Regions from separate parts of the Homo sapiens genome. Here region 2 is linked to region 1. The links are contacts of gene promoters, found by promoter capture Hi-C in blood cells and fetal thymus (Javierre and others, 2016). All regions are on one chromosome and are shown on one strand. The core of a region is centred on a gene start or on the middle of the fragment in contact, and the rest is flanking DNA. Distances in the headings are between cores, read along the strand shown.

The links. Contacts are between HindIII fragments. The CHiCAGO score rates a contact against its expected background, and 5 or more counts as called.
Region 2: a contact is called between a fragment that was not itself captured here and the fragment with the promoter of FMO1 in region 1, in 3 of 17 cell types (M2 macrophages, M1 macrophages and M0 macrophages). The highest score is 9.5, in M2 macrophages.

Annotation. Positions count from the first base shown.
Region 1 is chr1:171,243,483-171,250,215 of GRCh38, forward strand. FMO1 (flavin containing dimethylaniline monoxygenase 1) reads left to right here and starts at 5,012. Exons shown (of 9, transcript NM_001282693.2): 1 at 5,012-5,141. It overlaps FMO1-AS1 (FMO1 antisense RNA 1), which reads right to left. Exons shown (of 5, transcript XR_922278.4): 2 at 4,099-4,245. The HindIII fragment of the contact is 5,013 bases long and covers 2,709-6,733 here.
Region 2 is chr1:171,402,363-171,409,683 of GRCh38, forward strand. No RefSeq gene overlaps it. Among named protein-coding and RNA genes, the nearest start is that of PRRC2C, 80 kb to the right of the region's middle. RefSeq lists silencers at 2,748-3,042, 2,863-3,002. The HindIII fragment of the contact is 610 bases long and covers 3,626-4,235 here.

The DNA of each region.
Region 1 (6,733 bases), core at 3,762-6,261:
GAATTCTAAGTGATATGATAGATAAGATAGTTTCTAACGTACAGTTGCAGGCTTTGTCACAAATGTTTATCAAGCTATAAAGATGTTTAAAGAAATTCTTAAAAAGAAAAACATAAAAGTGGCTGTTTCCTCCAATCTTCAGATAGTGGATATGTGAGTCACTGAATCACCACTACTGACACTAGTAAACTCATTTCAAGCATAATAATTGGCCTTAAGTAGTCTTGGTTCTCCCTCCAACTCCACTTTCAGTGCTTTCATTCTAAAGGTGGGTTCTCAGGAAAAGAAAAATAATAACCTCGAGGTGTAAGGAACAGAGGGAATTACTTCCTTTAATGTGTGGCATTAAAAAACAAACACTCACATTTTAGAATGACAGGTATCTGTGGGGAAGATCTGTGTAGGTAGGGGACCTTTGATGCTTCGAGTGTAGCGGGAAGTTGTGAGTTAGGGAATTGTGTTTGTCTTAACTTTGTTTTTTGTAGAGAGAAAAACAATTTCACGGGGTGGGTCCAATTTTCAGACTAAGTAAATTCTGTGCTCTCTTTCAGCTCTAAAATTCTGTGGCTCTAACTGTGAATCAGAGAAGTGAAATAGAGTAATGGAAGTGAGACTGAAGAAGATGGTTGACAACTCAAGATGAATGAAAGACAAATCTAACACCTGAAACCATAAAAATACTAGACGATAACATCAGAAAAACTCTTCTAGACATTGACTTAAGCAAAGACTTCATGACCAAGAAGCCAAAAGCAAATGCAACAAAAACAAAGATAAATAGATTGGACTTAATTAAATTAAAAAGCTTCTGCACAACAAATGAAATAATTAGCAGAGTTAACGGACAACCCACAGAGTGGGAGAAAATCTTTGCAATCTATACATAAAACAAAAGACTAATATCCAGAATCTACAAGGAACTCAAACAAATCAGCAGGAAAAAACGAACAATCTCATCAAAAAGTGGGCTAAAGACATGAATAGACAATTCTCAAAAGAAGATATACAAATGGCCAACAAGCATATGGAAAAATGTTCAACATCACTAATGATCAGGGAAATGCAAATCAAAACCACAATGCAATACCACCTTACTCCTGCAAGAATGTCCATAATTTTAAAAATATAAAATTATAGATGTTGGCATGAATGTGGTGAAAAGGGAAAACTTTTACACTGCTGGTGTGAATTTAAAGTAGTACAACCACTATGGAAAACAGTGTGGAGATTCCTTAAAGAATTGAAAGTAGTTCTACCATTTGATTCAGCAATCCCACTACTGGGTATCTAACCAGAGGAAAAGAAGTCATTACACAAGAAAGATACTTGCACAAGCATGTTTACGTCACCACAATTTGCAATTGCCAAAATATAGAACCAGCTCAAATGCCCATCAATCAATGAGTGGATAATAATTTATGATACATATATATATATACACACACACACACACCATGGAACACTACTCAACCATAAAAAAAGGAACAAAATAATGGCATTTGCAGCAACCTGGATGGAGTTAGAGACCATTATTCTAAGTAAAGTAACCCAGGAATGGAAAACCAAACATTGTATGTTCTCACTCATAAGTGGGAGCTAAGCTATGAGAATGCAAAGGCATAAGAATGATACGATGGACTTTGGGGACTTAGGGGAAAGGGCAGGAGGGAGGTGAGGCATAAAAGACTACACATTGCGTACAGTGTACACTGCTTGGGTGATGAGTGCACCAAAATCTCGCAAATCACCACTAAAGAACTTTTTCATGTAACCAAACACCACCTGCTCCCTAAAAACCTATCGAAATAAAAAATATACTTTTTAAAAAAGAAGATGATTGAGAAATACAATGAAGGAGCTAAGAAACATCCCTCTAGTGCATTGATCAATAAAGACTTGGTATGATGCATTAACAACCAATCCCCAAACCTCGATACCTTGAAATAAAACAAAGATTATTTCATGTATGTGTCCATTAGTGTAGGCCCTGCTCATCACATTCACCAGGTATTCGGACTAATAGAAGAGCCATCTTGAAAGTTGCTGATTACCACACTGAAGGAAAAGAAAGTTCTATGGAATCTTACTGGCAATTAAGTGCTCTAGCCCAGAAAGGACACCTTACTCTAGCTCACAGTTCTTTGACCAGAACGAGTCACATTCCTCCCAACCAACCGCTAGAGGGCCAAGAAGAACAATCCTACCATTCATCTTCCCTGAAGGTAGGAGGTCCAGAATATTTCCTAAAGAGCATTATTGTCTACCAATTCAGCTTCTTAGGGTCTAGGTCCACTCGAATAAGGGGACTACATATCCTTCCTTATCCCATGGCCTAGAGTATAACTGACTAACAAAAATCCCTAAAAATAGCAGAAACTGAAGTTGCCACCGAAGGCCGGTCTTCTCATTTTTAATTACTACAAGTCTCTTGCTGATTATGGAAAATGAGATGATATAATAAAATCATCATCTTATTCTCAACCAACAGTTTAAAGTCCTGTGATTCTCCTTATGTTAGCAGCATGCCTGGTAAGGCCCAGGGACAAGTTAAGTCCCACCATTAGTGTACCAAATCCCAGTACTTACATACTTACCTTGATGTGTATATGCTGCACACCAAGGTAAATTACAAATCAAACATATTCTGATTTTTGAAAACATACTTGAACTAATAGTCATTTTAAAGGCTTACTCTCTGGGTATAATTAAGCTTGAAATCATCCAAATATTATTATTTTCATAGCTGCAGCAAAGCAGCTGAATTTCACAGAGCTAACAATGCTGTCTCTGTGCTGAATACTTAATAAGCCAGAAATGAGGCAAAAGGTGAGCCCAATGAGCAAGCAGTATACTCAGTGATACACAGGACCTCCAGGTCAAAGGGTTATACCATGTTGAAAATCAAGGAAAAAGACATATTCTTTCAGAAATTTCTCTCTGCTTCAGTCCACCAACCTCTCATGGAATTTATTCTCTGTACCTGTGGGAGTCATTTCAGTGTTATGAACCAGCAATCAAGACACCTTATCTGGTCCAACAATGACAGCATCATCATCATCATCATTATCATCATTACAATCATACACAGTATTTACTATATATACACAAATCTCTTGACATAGATTATCTCATCTAATCCCCACCACAACTATCTGATGCAGATGTTATTATGCCTGTTTTATTTATTTTTTAGAATTTTTTATTTTATTTATTTCAATAGCTTTTGGGGGAGCAGGTGGTGTTTTGTTACCTGGATAAGTTCTTTAATGGTGATTTGTGGGTTTTGGTGCACCCATCATCTGAGCAGTGTACACTATACCCAATGTGTAGTCTTTTATGCATCACCCCCCACTCCAACACTTACCCCCAAGTCCCCAAAGTCCATTGTATCATTTTTATGCCTTTGTATTCTCATAGCCTAGCTCCAACTTATGAGTGAGAACATAGAATGTTCAGTTTTCCACTCCCAAGTTACTTCACTTAGGATAATGGTCTGCAACTCCATCCAGGTTGCTGTGAATGCCATTATTTCATCCCTTTTTATGGCTGAGTAGTATTCCATGGTATGTATATACCACGAATTATTTATCCACTCATTGATTGATGGGCATTTTGGCTGGTTTCATTTTTTGCAATTGCAAATTGTGCTGCTATAAACAAGTGTGTTCAAGTATCTTTTTTGTATAATGACTCCTTTTCCTCATTTTCAAGACAGCATCAGCTGCGGTAGTATAGGGAGAATGCAAGATTGCCCTAAGGTCTCCTGGATAAGTATTCGTGTTTCTCAGGCTAATAGTCAAAACTATTACAAAGTTCAGCTGGAAGTTTCCTTCTCCCTGTGGTCCTTCCTCAATTTCACTGGCAGCCCTCCTCAAGGACCCCTGTGAGATAAAGTCAGAAATGACTTCCCTGGGCACCAAGAGTACCTACAGGGCTCTTCCCACTGCTTCTACTTTTATATTTCGTTTTGCTCTCTAAATTCATCCCAGCTCTAGGTAAGGTTAAATCCTTCTCCTGTGATCTGGATTTTTAGGTTCCCTAGTGGGTTTGCGTGTTTGGAGGCAGATTTTTTCCCCCACTCACACTTTGGGCACTCACAGTTTTTCAGCTGTCTCATGGAGTTTGCAGCGGCAAGCCACTTCTTTCAAAGGTCCTGTGAATTCTTTTGGTTTTCCTGGTATGTTCATGCAGTACTTCTTGGAGGAAAATTTCACTGTGTGAGTCTCCACATGCTGTTCTGTCTGTCTGCGTGGAAACTGCAAGTTAGTCCTGCCTCCTATCCACCATTTTCCAACAATCTGTCGTTAACCATTTCAAAGTATAGAATTCAGTGGCATTTAGTACATTCATAATGCTGTGTAACCACAACCTCTATCCAGTTTCAAAACACTTTCATCACACCCAAAAGAAAACTCCATACTCATTAGCAATCCTTCCCCATTCCCTTCTTTCCCCAGCCCCTGGCAGCCACTCGATCATGCCTATTTTAAATTGAGGAAACTAAAGCTGAGAAAAGTTATACAATTTTTCCAACATGACTCTGATAATAGCTGGTGAACGCAATACTCGAACCCAGGACTTGTGATTCCCAAGATCAGACTCCTCCCATATACCTGTCTTTTATTTCCCAAGTGCTTGGGCAATCAGCTGCACTTAAAAAGCCTTTACAAATTGAGTTTACTAATGTGAGTAATATATGATTTTTTAAAAATAATAATTGTCCCTAAAGGTGAAATGGATCAAAGCCCTTAAAAGTGAATCTGTGGTGTAGTAACTGTTAACATAATTGTCTTATTTTATTCTCATCCCCTTAAAGAATAAAACTGATGAACAAGTGAGGATGCTGGTGTAACTCCCTAACTTAGTTTATAGTCTGTAAGCAGAAGAGTGAGTCTAAAGTACATATCACCAGACAGTGTTTCTCCTAGCATTTCGCTGTTGCATTAATCAACAAGTTAAAATATAAACAACGGCTAACCTTGGGTTTCAAATTTAACATTCCTTATCTCTTAGACCAGGTTTATCCACTGTGCTGGGGACTCCCAAGCCAGCACTGGCTCATACTGATTCATTTTGATCTCTGCTAATACCAGAGTCCTGCGTGGCAGAGCCATTGGCACCAGAAATTACAAGTACGTAAAGTAAGTAACCAGATATAATCTCTGATTTCTTTGGATGAGGAAAGTGGGGTCTGGAGTTTTCCTGTTTTGTTATTGTGCTCCAGGGAAGAACCACCTTATCAGAAAGCAGCTTTCTCTGTCCAACCCTGGAGGAGCTATAAAGCTACTCCTTGGCCCAAAGTATAGGAGTAGTAAATGTTTGGATACTTATAATGGGACAATATCATTGATTCAACCACTTAATAATCTACCCAGCAGTATACTTACCTGTCTTCCATGTACACAGGTAAGTATACTGTTGGGTAGATTATTAAGTGGTTGAATCAAATGGGAAAAACTTGGATTTCTAATGCAAGAGGAAAAGTCTCTTTTTTTTTTTAGTGCTTCCATCAGCAGCTTCTAACATTGTCTGAGATCATAGTTTTTGAAGGGTGACTACCAAATGTTGGCATTTGGCACAAGTGGGAAGCAAAAGGCAAGCCCCTTTAGAATTTGACTAATCTGTTCTGTCATGTCATCTTTTTTTCTGTTGTTAAAAGTGTTTCGTGCTTCATTCTATGTATTATGTCAAAATTTATTGATTTCCATGTGATTGGCACATCTTTTTTACTAATCCTGCTCCAGTTAAATTCACAAGATCATAAACATCAAGGGTTTGAAAATCATTTTTAGATATTCAGGTCTATGCCATCTGTTCTGCAGATGGAGAAACTGAGTCCTTGGTTATTAGAGTTTCCCCTGCATCCTAGGGAATCTGCTATGGCCTTGTAACTGGCACAGAGGACCTAAAGCCTGGGAGAATTTTTATTTGCTTGTTGTGGTTAGGAACATTTGAGTAAATGAGGAGCTGCTGCTAGAGGACAGAAATCCCAGAGTATGGCCCTCCTTGGACCCAAGTTTCTTACCAGCTGTGCTCCTTTGTTCCCAGGGGCTAAGTAGGCACCTTCACCCACCCCAACTGCCATCCAGCTGAATCTCTCTCTGATTACTCCTGAAATGTCACAACCCACTTGAGGATAGGGTATCATTGTGCAGTCTGTGCCAACCAGTATTCTGAAGTATTTTCATGCACTAAGGTGTAGGAGTGTGTGTGTGTGTGTATGTGTGTGTGTGAGAGAGAGAGACAGAGGGAGTAGGGAAGGAGGAGAAGATGGGGAATGCATAAATAGAGGGCTGGATACAAATCTGACAGTGCCAATGGCTTCCTAGTAAATGCATAGGTGAGTCACACTGGAAACAGTTAAACATTGGCTAATTGATACAATGCTAGCCTCAAATATAGTATAATATGCATTTTCTTGACATCAACAAATAAAATCTCCGGGTCAATAAAATAAACTCGGAAAATAAAACTCTTGCCCAGAAGTTTTCAACTTTCTAGGTTCAAGGAGCCCTTGGTGTGCAATTTCTTCAAGGTGCCCCCAGACCATAGTTTCTCCTATTAAGTAGACAAAAACTTAATAACTATTTATGTTCTAACAACTTTGTAGTTTTTTGAACAAGTAATATACAAACTAAAAGAAAAATAATATTTTTATTTCATTCTTAATCCCAATTACTTAATAATAAGGTTTATGTGCCTGCTGAGCACTGCACAACTTCTCAAACCTTGG
Region 2 (7,321 bases), core at 2,681-5,180, 160 kb after region 1:
CCATGGGCCATGGGTTGGACAAGCTTGTTTTAGACCAAATGGACCTGAATGACATATATAGGACAATATATCCAACCCCACTAAAATACACATTCCTCTCAAGTATACACACAGAACATATTCCAGAATAGATATGTTAGGCCACAAAACAAGTCTTTAAAAATGTAGTCCAGGGGCAGTGGCTCATGCCTATAATTCCAGCACTCTAGGAAACTTGAGGTTAGGAGTTTGAGACTAGCCTGGCCAACATGGTGAAACCTGTCTCTACTAAAAATACAAAAAAAAAAATAGCTGGGCGTGGTGACGGGTGCCTGTAATCCCAGCTACTCAGGAGGCTGAGGCATGAGAATCACTTGAACCTGGGAGGTGAAGGTTGCAGTGAGCCAAGATCATGCCACTGCATTCCAGCCTGGATGACAGAGGGAGACTCTGTCTCAAAAAAAAAAAAAAAAAAAGGAAAAAACTCTAAGAGGGTGCAGTGAGAAAGAAAATGGCAAATAGGAGACAGGTCTAATGTGTAGCTCCCACTTGGATGAACAGAACAGCTTGTAGAGACTCATATCGTGAAATTTTGCTCAAGTACCACTGCAGGAACATATCAGGAAAACTGAAAGAATTCACAGACCCTCTGAAAGAAGCAGTTTGCTGTTGCAAACTCTATGAGATAGTAGAAAAACTGTGAGTTCCCAACGTGTGAGGTCGGGGAAAGCCTGCCTCCAAACACACATCCCCAAACACTGGGGAACCTGAAAATCCAGATCACAGGAGAAGAATTTAACCTTACCTAGAGCTAAAACAGATTTAGGGAGCTGAGCAAAATATGAAAAGTAGAAAAAGCAGTGGGAAGAGCCTTGTAGGCACTCCCAGTCCCCAACTTGAGCCCAAGGAAACCGTCCCTGACTTAATCTCACAGGGGTCCTTGGGGAAGGCAGCCAGAGGAATTAGGGAAGGGTCAAAGGGTGAAAGAAGCTTCTAGCTGAACTTTGTAATAATTTTGACCCAGCACGAATTTTTGTGAGCAGAACTCAGGGGGTGAACAGGAAGTGCAGATAGCAGCTCAGAAGCTACAGCCAAAGGTGTAGGCAGACAGGGAGGGGCAAGGCCTGAAAGTTCTGCTACCCTTCTCAGCAGGGAAGCTTACGGCCTGGGGCAAGAGCTCAGCCCCGCATGCCAGCTGCCTGAATATAAACTCGGTGGTGTTGGCAGGGCACAGCAGGAATGAGACGGCCTTGCTGGCTGCGTGGAAGCTGGAGGAGGCTAACCACCGCTGGCTTTCTCCACTTCCCTGGCAACCTGGATGACACAGCAGAGGCAGCCATAATCCCCCTGGGAACATAATTCCATTGGCCTGAGAACCACACTCCCCATACCGGACAGTGGCCTCAGCAAGCCCCAGAGAAGAGTCTGAGCTCAGATCCATCTAACCCTGCCCCCATCTGATAGTTTTTCTCTACCTGCCCTGATAGCTGAAGACAAAAGACATAAATTCGTGGGAGCTCTGTGGCCTTGCCCATCACCTGAGAAGCCTGAATACTTATCCTGACCAACATAGGGCAAGCTTATATCCCCCTTCTACCACAGCTGGTGCTCTCTTGAAAGCACCACTTCCTAGCTGGAGGTCACCCAACTTAAGCCATTATAGCAACTCATAAGAAAACAACTCTGCTCCAAAGAAGGAGAAAACAACAGCTAATTCCACTCCCTACAACATGGCTAACCAGAGGTTCCTGAATCCTTCCACATGACAACTTCACTGCTAGGATTACCAGCATTCTAGAAAAACAGTGCACTAAACAAAAGTACAACCAACAATTCCCACAGAGTCCACTTCACTCCCCTGCCACCTTCACTGGGTATCCACAGCTGGGAGACCAAAGGACAGATCACATCACAGGACTCTTTGCAGACAATCCCCAGTACTAGCCCAGAGCCCAGTAGCTCTGCTGGGTGGCAGTAACAATCATTGCAGCCCAACTCTCAGGAAGCCCCCATCCCAGGAGAAGGGAGAGAACACCACAGCAAGGGATCACCTGGTGGAACAAAAGAACCTGAACAGCAGCCCTTGAGTTCCAGATTTTTCACCTGAAATAATCCTCCCAAATGAGAAGGAACAAGAAAAGTGATTCTGGTAATATGAAAAAACAAGGTTCTTTGACACCCCTAAAAGATCACACTAGCTCTCTAGCAATGGAACCAAACCAAGAGGAAACCTCTGAATTGCCAGATAAAGAATTCAGAAGGTTGATTATTAAGCTACTCAAGGAGTTACCAGAGAAAGTGTAGGGTCCAGTCCTACTGGGCCTGTGGGTTTTTCTCCTCATGTGAGGAGACAAGGGATCGTAGAAATAAAGACACAAGACAAAGAGATAGAAGAAAAGACAGCTGGGCCCGGGGGACCACTACCACCTAGACGCGGAGACCAGTAGTGCCCGCGAATGCCTGGCTGTGCTGTTATTTACTGGATACAAAGCAAGAGGGCAGGGTAAGGAGTGTGAGCCATCTCCAATGATAAGTAAGATCACACGAGTCACGTGTCCACCGGACCCGGGGGTGGGGGGGTGTCCCTTCCCTGTTTAGTAGCCAAGGCGGAGAAAGAGAGGGGACGGCTTATGTCATTATTTCTTCCACGCATTTCAAAGACTTTAGTACTTTCACTAATTCTGCTACTGCTATCTAGAAGGCAGAGCCAGGTGTACAAGGCGGAACATGAAAGTGGACCAGGAGCGTGACCGCTGAACCACAGCATCACAGGGAAACGGTTAGGACTCCGGATGGCTGAGGGTGAGACTGACTGTTGTCAGGCCTTCCACAAGAGGTGGTGCAGCAGAGTCTTCTCTAACTCCCCTGGGGGAAAGAAAGACTCCCTTTCCCGGTCGGCTAAGTAACGGGTGCCTTCCAAGGCACTGGCATTACCACTAGAACAAGGAGCCCTCTAGTGACCCTGTCTGGGCATGACAGATGGCTCATACTCTTGTCTTCCGGTCACTTCTGTGTCCCTTCAGTTCCTATCTCTGTATGGCCTGGTTTTTCCTAGGTTATAATTGTAGAACAAAGATTATTATAATATTGGAATAAAGAATAAAGCTACTAATGATTAATAACATTCATATGTAATCATATCCATAATCTATTTCTAGTATAACTATTCTTATTCTATATATTTTCTTTATTATACTGGAACAGCTTGTACCCTCGGTCTCTTGCTTTGGCTGGCACCTGGGTGGCTTGCCACCCACAGAAAGGTGAAAACCAACTTAAAGACATTTTAAAAACAATACAGGATATGGATTAAAAATTCTCCAGAAAAATAGATATCATAAAGAAAAAACACTCACAACTTCTGGAAATGAAAGACACACTTAGAGAAATACCAAATACACTGGAAAGTTTCAACAATAGACTAGAACAAGTAGAAAAAAGAACTTCAGAGCTTAAAGACAAGGCTTTCAAATTAACCCAATGAGACAAAGACAAAGACAAAATGAATTTTAAAAAAATGAACAAAGTTTCCAAGAAATTTGAGATTCTATTAAATGAGCAAACATAAGAATAATTTGTGTTCCTGAGGAAGAAGAGAAATCTAAAAGTTTGGAAGACATATTTGAGGGAATAATAATGAAAAAAAAGCTTCCTTGGCCCTGCTAGAGATCTAGACATTCAAATACAAGAAACTCAAGGAACACCTGGGAAAGTTATCATAAAAAGATCATCACCTAGGCACTTAATCATCAAGTCAAGACAAAGGAAATAATCTTAAGAGCTGTGAGACAAAAACATCAGGTAAAACATAAAGGAGAACCTATTGAATTAACAGCAGATTTCTCAGTAGAAACCCTATAAGCCAGAGGGATTGGGGTCCTATCTTTTTTTTCTTTCTTTCTTTTTAAGACGGAGTCTCACACTGAGGCCCAGGCTGGAGTGCAGTGGCATGATCTTGGCTCACTGTAACCTCTGCCTTCTGGGTTCAAGCGATTCTCCTGCCTCAGCCTCCCAAGTAGCTGGAACTACAGGCACGCACCACCATGCCCAGCTAATTTTTGTATTTTTGGTAGAGATGGGATTTCACCATGTTGGCCAGGATGGTCTCAAACTCTTGACCTCGTGTTCTGCCCCTCCTTGGCCTCCCAAAGTGCTAGGATTACAGGCGTGAGCCACTGTGCCCTGCCTGGGGTCCTATCTTTAGCCTCCTTAAACAAAATAATTATCAGGCAAGAACTTTGTATCCAGCAAAACTAAGCTTGATAAATGAAAGAGAGATAAACTCTTTTTCAGACAAATGCTGAGAGAATTCACCACTACCAAGCCAGCACTACAAGAAATGCCAAAAGGAGTTCTAAATCTTGAAACAAAACCTCAAAATATACCAAAATAGATCTTCCTCAAAGCATAAATCTCATAAGGCCTATAAAACACAGTGAAAACAAAACAAGGTATTCAGGTAACAACTAGCATGATGAATAGGATAGTACCTCACATCTCAGTAGAAATTTTGAATGTAAATGGCCTAAATGTTTCACTTAAAAGATAAAGAATGGCAGAATGGTTAAAAATCCACCAACCAAGAATCAGCTGCCTTCAACTGACTCACCTAACACACAAGGGCCCGCACTGAGTTAAGGTAAAGGGGTGGAAAAATATATTCCATGCTAATGGAAACCAAAATCAAGCCAGAGTAGCTATACTTATATCAGACAAAACAGACTTTAAAGTAATGACAATTTAAAAAAGACAAAGAGAACATTATATAATAATAATAGGATTAGTCCAATAGGAAAATATGACAATCCTAAATATATATGCATCTAACACTGGAGCTCCCAAATTTATGAAACAATTACTACTGGCTAGGCGTGGTGGCTCACACCTGTAATCCCAGTGCTTTGGTAGGCCGAGGCAGGCAGATCACTTGAGGCCAGGAGTTGAAGATCAGCCTGGCCATCATAGTGAAACCCTATCTCTACTAAAAATAGAAAAATTAGCTGGGTGTGGTGGTGCATGCCTATAATCCCAGCTACATGAGAGGTGAAGGTTGCATTGAGGCAAGATGGCACCACTGCACTTCAGCCTGGGTGACAGAGTAAGATTCTGTCTCAAAAAAAAAAAATAATAATAATAATAATAATAATTACTACTAGGTGAAAGAAATGATATAGATGGCAACACAATAATAGTGGGGGATTTCGATACTCTACTGACAGCACTAGACAGGTCATCAAGACAGAGAGTCAACAAAGAAATAATGAACTTAAACTATGCCCTAGAACGAATGCACTTAACAGATATTTACAGAGCATTCTACCCAACAACTACAGAATATACATTCTATTCTTCAGCACATGGAACATTCTCCAAGATAGACAATATGATAGACCACAAAACAAGTCTCAATAAATTTGAGAAAATTGAAATTATATCAAGTACTCTCCCAGGGCAATGTGAAATAAAATTGGAAATTAACTCCAAAAGGAACATTCAAAACTATACGAATACATGTAAATTAAATAATCTGCTCCTGAATGATCCCTGGGTCAACAATGAAATCAAAATGGAAATTAAAAAATTATTTGAACTGGGCCGGGCATGGTGGCTCACATCTGTAATCCCAGCACTTCGGGAGGCCGAAGTGGGTGGATCACCTGTGGTCGGGAACTTGAGACCAGCCTGACCAACACGGAGAAACCCTGTCTCTACTAAAAATACAAAATTTGCCAGGCATGGTGGTACATACCTGTAATCTCAGCTACTTGGGAAGCTGAGGCAGGAGAATCGCTTGAACCTGGGAGATGGAGGTTGCAGTGAGCCGAGATTGCACCATTGTACTCCAGCATGGATGACAGAGTGAAACTCTGTCGCCAAAAAAAAAATTTTTTTTGAACTGAATGATACTAGTGACAAAACCTATCATAACCTCAGGAATACAGCAAAAGCAATGCTACAAGGAAAGTTTATAGCATTAAATGCCTACCTCAAAATGTCTGAAAGAGCACAAAGAGACAATTAAAGGCCACACCTCAAGGAAATAGAGCAACAAGAATAAACCAAACCCAAACCCAGCAGAAGAAAAGAAATTACAAAGATCAGAGCAGAGCTAAATACAATTGAAACAAACAAACAAAAAAAGAAAACAAGAGATAAATGAAGCAAAAAGCAGGTTCTTTGAAAAGATAAACAAAATTCATAGACCATTAGAAAGATTACTCAAGAAAAGAAGAGAGAAGATTCGAATAAGCTCAATTAGAAACAAAATGGGATGTATTACAAACAATATGGCAGAAATACAAAAGATCATTCAAGGCTGCTGTGAACACCTTTACCCTCACAAACTAGAAAACCTAGAGGAGATGTATAAATTCCTGGAAATATACAACCCTCCTAGATTAAACTAGTAAGAAATAGAAACTCTGACCAGACCAATAACAAGCAGCAAGACTGAAATGGTAACTTAAAAATTACCAAAAAAAAAAGTGTCCAGGACCAGATGGATTCACAGCTGAATTCTATCAGACGTTCAAAAATAATTGGTACCAATCCTACTGAAACTACTCTAAGAGATAGAGCAAGAGGGAATCCTCCCTAAATCATTCTATAAAGTCAGTATAACCAGCCGGGCTTGGTGGCTCATGCCTGTAATCTCAGCACTTTGGGAGGCTGAGGCGGGTGGATCACGAGGTCAGGAGATCAAGACCATTCTAGCCAACATGGAGAAACCCCGTCTCTACTAAAAAATACAAAAATTATCCAGGTGTGATGGCGCATGCCTGTAATCCCAGCTACTCGGGAGGCTAAGGCAGGAGAATCACTTGAACCAGGGAGTCGGAGGTTGCAGTGAGCTGAGATCACGCCACTGCACTCCAGCCTGGTGACAGAGCAAGACTCCATCCAAAAAAAAAAGTCAGTATAACCATAATACCAAAATTAGGAAAGGACAAAAGAAAACTACAGACCAATATCCCTGATGAACATAGATGCAAAAATCCTCAACAAAATACTAGCTAACTGAATCCAACAGTATATCAAAAAGATAATACACCATGATTAAGTGAGTTTCATGCCAGGGATTCAGGGATGATTGAAATACAGAAGTGAATGTAATACACCACATAAACAGAATTAAAAACAAAAACCATATAATCATTTCAATAGACACAAAAAAAGCATTTTATAAAACCCAGCATTCCTTTATGATTAAAACCCTCAGCAAAACTGACACAGAAGGGATACCTTAAGGTAATAAAAGCCATCTATGACAAACCCGTAGCTAACACTATACTGAATGGGAAAAAGTTGAAAGCATTTTCAGTGATAACTGTAACAAGATAAG